Regions from separate parts of the Homo sapiens genome. Here region 2 is linked to region 1. Evidence: promoter capture Hi-C in human tissues and cell types (Jung and others, 2019). All regions are on one chromosome and are shown on one strand. The core of a region is centred on a gene start or on the middle of the fragment in contact, and the rest is flanking DNA. Distances in the headings are between cores, read along the strand shown.

What was found. The method cuts DNA at HindIII sites, captures the fragments that hold promoters and counts their contacts. A contact is called where the count stands out against the background at its distance.
Region 2: a fragment that was not itself captured here is called in contact with the fragment with the promoter of ANKS1B in region 1 in 1 of the 25 tissues and cell types used here (small bowel).

The regions. Positions count from the first base shown.
Region 1 is chr12:99,982,334-99,986,899 of GRCh38, reverse strand. ANKS1B (ankyrin repeat and sterile alpha motif domain containing 1B) reads left to right here and starts at 1,964. Exons shown (of 27, transcript NM_001352186.2): 1 at 1,964-2,796. The coding sequence starts at 2,663. RefSeq lists a silencer at 1,942-1,991 and an enhancer at 2,104-2,934. The HindIII fragment of the contact is 20,528 bases long and covers 1-4,566 here.
Region 2 is chr12:99,933,585-99,938,150 of GRCh38, reverse strand. The region is part of intron 1 of ANKS1B (ankyrin repeat and sterile alpha motif domain containing 1B); the gene reads left to right. Among named protein-coding and RNA genes, the nearest start is that of ANKS1B, 49 kb to the left of the region's middle. The HindIII fragment of the contact is 4,624 bases long and covers 1-4,116 here.

The DNA.
Region 1 (4,566 bases), core at 715-3,214:
TAGATTTTTAAAAGAATGTTTTCACTTTTATTTTGCATGTTAGTCCCCATGTAGCCAAAGCCTTTATCCTCTTCAACAAAAAACTATGAGGTGCAGTCACTGCAATGTCTACAGAAAAACAAAGTTATGAGGTCACTAAAACCAAAGAGTTTGAAGCTGAAAAATTGGCTTTGATTATCATATGTCAGTAGAATGCCCGAACTGTGGAACTGATTCTTAGAGTAAATCATTACTAATGGTTTTCCCATTGGGGGTGGGGGCTGCATGATTTCGATAAGATGACTCGGGGCCTGCGGTCACCAACTCATCCATGATTAAATGTTGCTTGTGAAAACTGTGGGTGATTTTCAGTTCTGACCAATTGAATACTTACAGTATATTCTGGGAAAGGTGTGTTTTGCTTAGGTGGCAACATTAGGAAAAAGGAAGAAGGATTTCCCTATGCCATTTTCAAAATGAATGTGATGGCTCCTTATCTCGTTTCTTTCATTGGTCTGCTAGTCCCATTATGTCAGGGATTATATTATTATAACATAGATTATCTTATTAAAACAGATTCTAACACAGAAAACAAAATCAAAATGAATTAAAAAACTACACTAGCCAAAATCTACATACTTCAGGAAACCTCCAATAAATAGCCATAATTTACCTAATATTTTGAATCATTGAAATGAAATCTCAGAACACAATGAATTCCATAAAAATGTTTTAATATACTCTTGTTATTTATCTCTAAATGCCTTTTAAGTTTCCCCCAGTTATTTATTGAAAATCTTTGCCTACAGCAGACAGTGCCGGATTTGAGCCTTGGCTCAGTTACTTTCTATCCCTATTATCTTGCGGGTAATCAGTTTCTTCATCTCCAAAATAGAGATGAAAATGGTCCTATCTCATGCGATTGTTGCAAGGCTTAATGAGAACATGGAAAGCACTTAGCATAGTGTCTGGTATGTAGCAACTACTCATCAAATGCATGCAATAATTATTGTCTGTCCATTTCGCTTTTCCATGGGGGGCAGGAACGTATATTGGGAAGCACATGGTGTCTGGAGTGAGTCTGTTCTGGGGTCTAGTTCTGAGTCAGCCACTTACTCCATGTGGCATCTTGAGAAATTTAATTAACCATTTGAGCCCTATTTCCTCATTTCTAAAATGGATATAATAATATCCAGTTCACTGGGTTGTTGTAAGCACAGTGCCTATTAAGTCCTCTTCTTACCAATCAATTATCAACAAGTGAACATTTATGAAGTCTATTCCAAGGACAATGCAAAGCACAAGGTGTAACAGGAAGTTTTAATAGAAAATAAACGCGCGTTCTCCACCACGGCCAAGGAGAGCATCTAACAAGTCATGCCAACCATGCACAATGAATTGCTGATGATATATGCAAATTAAAGTGGATCTCTAATCCATGCCCATTTATATTTTTCGAGTGTAGATGTGGATAAATTTTCAATGAGAGCCTTTTTCCTGGTATTCTTACAAGTCAGCAGATCTCCAAAGCCCAACTAAAATATGGGCTGATTAAAGACTCCAGAAAAACTGAAACAGTCGCAAACTGCTCGGTGGCCAGTGCCACAGAAACTAGGACGAAACGAGCCTCTTCTTTCTAACCAAGGGCAGATCTCAGGCTCTCTTGGGGAGGTAAAGCGGAAGGGTGAAATGCCGGTCAAGTTGCCTAGACTCTGATGGAAGCGGTGGCCAAAGGGCCCCTCCCCAGTGTCACCAGCCTCCCCATTCCTGTCACGGAGGATTTTCCTCAGGCGTCGTGACAGACCCGAGGCGTGTTGCCGGGGCCCGCCGGGCCGAGGAGGAGCCGACGCGGCCCGGGGAACTCCAGTCCTCACACGGTTAACGCTCTTCCAAGGAGAGTGGAGGAGGGAGGGTCCCCGCCCACGAGAACGAAGAGAATCTCAGGGCCGAAGCCCCGCCTCAGCCGGCCCGGCCCCTCCCCGCCAGCCCGCCACCCAACTCGGGCCGCACCAGGGGCCGCACCTGCCCGCGCGCACACGCCCCCCGCGCGCCAGGCCTCGCCGCCGCCGCCGCCCTCGGCACGCGCCCGCTGCGGCTGCCCCCCACCGCCCTGCCTCGGCGCGGGCCACAGCGCACGAGCCGCCGCCGCCGCCGCCGCGCTCCTCCCCGCCGCGGACGCCGCCCCCGCGTAACCGCCGAGGAAGCCGAGGCGAGCCCGGGTCGGGCGCGAGGGCGCGCGGGCCGCTGCTGCCACCGCGGGTGTTCCCTGCGCTCCCGCTCCAGCTAGGACTCTCTCTGCCGCCTCCTCCTCCTCCTCCGACCTCAGTCCTCACCACCCTCCTCCCGCTCCTCAAAAGCACCCCCGAGTCCCCACCCCCTCACGCCGCACCCGCGGGAACGAGGCCTTGGGAATTCAGGGGAGTGGCTGTGGGGGCGCGTCGCGGCTCCCAGCTCGGCCAGCCCCTCTTTCAAGACATGGTCTGATCCCCATTGTAAAAGCTGCGCCCCGAAGAGGAGGAGAGAGTCGTGCTCCCTGCCTGGGGCTGCAGGGAGCTCTCCGTGCTGAAGCTCTTGCATTATTTTAGGGTGGGGCGAAGAGGGCCCTGGATTTTGGGGAGTGGGGGTGGGTGGGGAGGAGGACCCGAGGGGGGCAAGGACTCTGTGGGGGAGTCGGTGAGAGACTATGGGGAAGGACCAGGAGCTGCTGGAAGCTGCTCGCACTGGAAATGTGGCTCTGGTGGAGAAACTCCTGTCTGGCAGGAAAGGAGGGATCCTGGGCGGTGGATCCGGACCCCTGCCCCTGTCTAATCTGCTAAGGTAAGGACGGGCACCAGCTCCGGGGTTGGCACACCTCATTATGCATTGTGATGGATATACGTCCTCCTCCTCACGGTTATTGCACCTGGTGGCTGCCAGCGATTCATTCTTAAATTAGGTAGGAAAACAGACTGCGTGTATGGAGAGGAGGTATGAGCCTCCCAGTCAGATTGATGCCTTAGATTCTTTGAGTAATTTTAAAATAGCCTTCCATCAATGCGTCAGTAAGCTACTTTTCCTCTGAGCCCTGGTGCAGAACTTGTACATGTACTAGTGTTGCTTGAAGAAAATCGACGTTCCGCCCGCTTTCCATCAACATTTATTACATATTTGCAGCTTTGAACGCAGCCTTTTTTGTCTAGTTAAATGAAATTGGCAGAGAATCTCTTGCGTGCATGCAATTACCCTGCAAAAGCCACAGCCTTCGGTGGCTCCTACCTTCTCTTGCAGAAGGCGTTTGCTGTGCCGTGGGTTATGATCCCACAAAATGAAGTGAGTGAACCTTCTTTCTGGTGAGATGTCTTCAGCACAGGGTGTGTATAAAACTTGATGGGGCAGGTTAGGCAGCCCCAGCAATACTTTCAGTTACCTGGACATAGCTGAGTGAAACTTGGTTGTTATAGCTCAGGATGAAGGATGCCAGGTTGGTATTGGGATACTGTATATGGAGTACGGTAGAGGCCTTTTAACGTGAAGATGTCGTAGGTGAGACTGGTATTGCTTGGAGAATCTTTCTAAGATGACATTTAAAAAAAATGTCAAGGTCTTCATTCAGCAGTACCTTGGAAATAGCGGGGTTGATTTCCATACTTGAGAAACTATTAAAAGTTGTATTGATGGACAAATGAAATCAACTGGGAGGGAGGAAGCCTGGAGAGTATTCACTAGATACAATTCAAGGGAAGCTCTTTAGTTTCTAAAATCGTGGCTATCCAATTTATCCTGGGTATTTTTGGAGTCATCAATTGTCATTCATATCTTCGCCTTAAAACATCTCTTGGATAACCCAACTATAGTTGTAAAAATTTTAGAAAGCCCAAGTGATTTCCCTGGTTTTTTAAAAACTGTTCCATGCTACCCTTGACAAGTGCTTAATAGAAACTTTTGGGTGATGACATTGCGTTCTTTACACAAGTTCTCATAGGTTGTGGTGGTCAGACAGTGCAATTAATTATAGGGCTAGCTAAAAGGGAAAATGGAAAGTTTCTATTACAGTGAAATAAATTGAGTTGAAAAATAGTCGATGGGATTTTAAAAAGCCCCATATGTTATTCTATATACTCGTTGACAGTGACATTTTATTGGAATGATAGTTCATGTCAGAAGAATGAATATTTATGGGACATTTTTTCAATAGGTCATAGAGATGACTTGTGTGTACTCCCTTGTTAAATAATCTTCTCTTTCAAACACAGGTAGACAATGTGTGCATATTTCAGATTGCAGCTCTAATAATTGCCTGTAGTCACATGTAGTTTATGTGAAAGCAATTTATCTCTTTACAGTTTTAAGTTACACGTAAAATAACAACGTTTGCTGTGGATCCATCAGTTATAAAAATGATTATGTCTAAAAACTGGTATGCTGAAAGAATTTTCTCAAAATAAACAATTTCTTCGGGAAAACATGAGGAATTATTTGAGAACAGTGAGAATTTCACTTAATTTTATTGTGATAAATCGTATTTTAAAAACACTCCTTGTGACAAAACTCAAAAGCAAACATCCTTTAAATACTCCTTTCCCAGCTGTGATTTTTTTTTTTTTTTTT
Region 2 (4,566 bases), core at 555-3,054, 49 kb after region 1:
TGACAAGTTTGTGTAACATAATCACATAGTCATGTACATGTATCCCATCTGTCGTGTCACCTTTGCTTATTCTTTTGACTAGAAACAAGCCACAGGTCCTGCCCATACTCAAGGGGAGGGATCACAATGGTGCATGGAAACTAGGAAATGGGGATTATGAGGATTGTGTTCAGAGCCCACCTGACATCAGAAGAGAAAGGAAAATTGGGTCGATTCTGCTCCCAGGATTTTCTTTTCACTTATTATATATAACTTGAGGGCAGGATTCATGACTGATTTATCATGTATCTTCTCTTTGCTACCATCACCCACCTACTAGACAATGTGTTACACTTAGTAGAAACTCAGTTGGTACTTGCAGGCTTAACTGTTATGCTATAAATCTAGTATCAAAGAAAGAAAATAAATACCCCTTTTCTCAGAAGAAGGTATCCTAGTGCTCTACATGTATTTAATTTGGGAGAATACAGATCACCTTGTTAAATCAGTGTAGCAATATGATAGCTGTTTGAAGATTTGGAACCATATGCCACGTTGTCAGGAAAGACTAGCAACTGTATCAGGAGGCCTTCTTTTCATAGTGTTCTACTTCTTTGTCTATCAGCATTGCCTCCCAATCAGCAGGCAAAATTATCAAGGGCTTTTGATTTTTGTCTGTGAGAAGAATATAAGCTGCCAGATCAAAGGAGAAGTGGGTATTTCTAACTCTGAGACTTGTTTTCCTAAATAATCATATTCAACATTGTAGAAATATTAATTATGTGTATACTTATTGACCATGTAGCTGTAGAATTGACATTTTGCTTACACCAAAGCTATGCTGTTTGTTTTTCTTCTTTCTTGGGTAGTTAAGATGGAGGTTACTTTCCAACTTTGGCCTGGCAGAATGGCCCCTGCAGAGAAGGGTGGGAAGAAGAAGGGCTCTCCTGCTGTCAATGAGGTGGTGACACAAGAATACACCATCAACACTCAGAAGCACATCCATGAGTGGGCTTCAAGAAGCATGCCCCTGGGGCACTCAGAGAGATCCAGAAATTTGCCATCATGAAGGAGATGGGAACTCCAGATGTGCGTATTGATAACAGGTTCAACAAAGCTGACTAGGCCTAAGGTTAAGGGATGTCCCATACTGTATCCATATGTGGTTGTCCAGAAACATAATGAGGATGAAGGTTCCCAAGCAAGCTGTATACTTTGGTTACCTATGTACCTGTTTCCACTTTAAAAAATCTATAGTCATTCAGTGTAGATGAGAACAAACTACTGATCATTGAATACATCAAATAAGGTTATAAAACTGCAAAAACAAAGTTGGAAGCTATATAACCATTGAATACTTACACTTTTCTAGTGTGAATTTATGCAAGGTCACAAAAGTAATGGCTGAAAATAGCGGGAAAAAAGTAATAAAGAGGCTAGGTCTTTGTGGAGTGAGGAGGACCTTAGTAAGTTAAATATTAATCTAACAGTAACAGACAAGGCAGCCAAGAGTACAGCAAACAGAGGTAGGAATGGTTTATATTGAATAAAAGACTGCGAAGGGAGAAGTAGATATTCCCAGTCAGTAACATAGGCCTTATAATAAATGAGTACCACAAATAGCCAAAGAGTAGACAGTTACCAAATATGGGAGGTTTCTCAGTTGCAACTGTAATTATCCATTTTTTTAAGAGATGGGGTCTTGCCATATTGGCCAGGCTGGTCCTGAACTCCTGGCCTCAAGTGATCCTCCCATCTTGACCTCCCAAAGTGCTGGGATTACAGGTGTGAGCCACTGTGCCTGGCCTAATTATCCCTGTGTATTTTACAAGTAGCATAACGTTTGGAGACAGAAATATAGGATGGAAAACTATTTAATTTTGGCTTAGCTTTTGAGAATTTTTGTTCTCATCTTCTGTTACCAGCTATGCTTGGCAGAATTCTAGGATGGCTCCCAAGATTCTCACCTGATATGGTTTGGCTCCATGTCCCCACCCAAATCTCACCTTGGATTGTAATCCTCATAATCCCCATACATCCAGGGCAGGACCAGGTGGAGGTAATCAGATCATGGGGTTGGTTTCCCCCATGCTGTTCTTGTGATAGTGAGTCTCGCAAAATCTGATCATTTTATAAACATCTGGCATTTCCCCTGCTTGCACTCATTCTTTCTCCTGCTGCCCTGTGAGGAGGTGCCTTCTGCCATGATTGTAAGTTTCCTGAGGCCTCAGCCATGCGGAACTGTGAGTCAATTAAACTTCTTTTCTTTATAAATTATCCAGTGTCAGGTATTTCCTTATAGCAATGTGAGAATGGACTAATACGTCATCCTATAGGGTACACATCCTGTAGAGTCACTTGTGATGAGGTCACTAATCAGTTGACTTTAAGTCAGTTAAGAGGGCCATTATCTGGGTGGGCCTGATCTAATCAAGTGAGCCTTTAAAAGGGATTGGGTTTTCTCTGAAGTTAGAAAGATTCAAATCTTGGGAGCATTAGAGGGCTTATTGAGGGACTACTAGGCAGGGAATCGCTGGTGGCATCTAGAAGTTGAGAGTGGCTCCTGACTGACAGCAAGAAAATGGGTGAGTGTCTGTCTTAAAACTGCAGGGAAATGAATTATGTCAGCAACCAGTGATGTTAAAAGAGGGCCCTATGCTTAAGAGGAAACCATAGTCTTGGTGGACATTTTGATTTCAGCCTGTGAGACCCTGTGTAGAGGACCTAGCTAATTCAGACTCCTGACCACAAAACCTGTGAGATGGTAAATGTGCGTTCTTTAAGATGCTAACTGTATAGTTTTTTTTTTTTTTTGTCAGGCATCTACAGAAAAAGAACACATCCTTATATGCAGCCTAAGCTTCTAAACTATCACTTTTCTAAACACGCCCCATCCCTTCCCAACTTTGTGGCTATAGTCAGGTGTTCTCTTCCCTGGAATGATTTTTGTTATATATCTATTCTACCCATCCATCTCATGGACCACCCCCTTATTGGTACTTACTCTGCTTCTGTAGGTGAATAGGATCTTTCTATCCTTTGAATATCAAGTGTAATTTATATCTCTTACGTTTAACTTTGTTTTGTAAAAGTTATTTTATATATGGTTTATGCTTTTTAATTTATTTATCGGAATAGAAAGGACTGTATATACATTCAAATATTCCAACAGTGGGAAATAGTATATAATGAAAATTAAGTGCTCTTATCCCAGATCACCAGTCCCCCAGTCCTCTGACCCAAAGGCAATCATTCTTTTTGGTTTTCACATATCCTTCTGTAGAGATTCTATACTTAGACAAGCATTTATGTACATATCTCCTCCCTCCTTTATATACAAAATTAATGTGTTTATCCTCTCTTCATTGTGAGATGTTTGAAGAATCCATGTCTTTTTTTCTTTTTTGTATTAATCTCCTAAAGTACCAAAGTATTTAAGACCTACTGAATTTAATCTTTTTCACCAAGTTGGTTTTCGAAAGATAAACAAAATTGGGAAACCTTTAGCCAGACTAAGAAAAAGAGAAGATCCAGTAAAATCAGAGATGAAAAAACAGACATTATGATGTATACTGCAGAAATTCAAAAGATCATTAGAGACTAGTGTGAGCAGCTATATACCAAAAAAATTGGAATAGTTAGAAGAAATGGATAAATTCCTAATCACATACCCTACCAAGATTTAACCATGAAGAAATCCAAAACTTGAACAGACCAATAACAACTGACAAGACTGAGCTGTAATAAAAAGTCTCCCAGCAAAGAGAAGCCGAGGATCCAATGACTTCACTGCTAAATTTTACCAAACATTTAAAGAAAAATTAATACCAGCTCTACTCAAACTATTCTGAAAAATGGAAGTAGTTTCTCCTTCCAGGTTCATTCTGCAAGGTCAGTATTACCTTGATACCAAAACCAGACAAAGATACATCAAAAAAAGAAAACTACAGGCCAGTATTACTGATGAACATTGATGCAGAAATCCTCAACAAAACACTAGCAAGCCAAATCTAACAACACATCAAAAAGATCATTTATCATGACCAAGTGGGATTTATCCCAGGGAGGTAAGGATGGTTCAACATGCACAGATCAATCACTGTGATACATCATATCAACAGAATGAAGGACAAAAACTATATGATCATTTCATTAGATACTGAGAAAAACTATATGATCATTTCATTTGATACTGAAAAAACATTTGATAAAATTCAACATCCCTTCATGATAAAACCCTCAAAACACTTGGAATAGAAGGAACATACTTGAACACAGTAAAAGCAATATACAACAGACCCACAGCTAGTATCTTACTGAATGGGGAAAAATGGAAAACCTTTCCCATAAAATCTAGAACAAGACAAAGATGCTTCCTTTCACTACTGTTATTCAACATGGTACTGCAAGTCCCAGCTAAGCAATCAGACAAGAGAAAGAAAGAAAGAGCATCCAAAATGGAAAGGAAGAAGTCAAATTATCCTTGTTTGCAGATGATATAGTCTTATATTTAGAAAAACCTGAAGCCCCCACCAAAAAACTATTAGAACTGATAAACACATTCAGTAAAGTTGCAGAATACAAAAC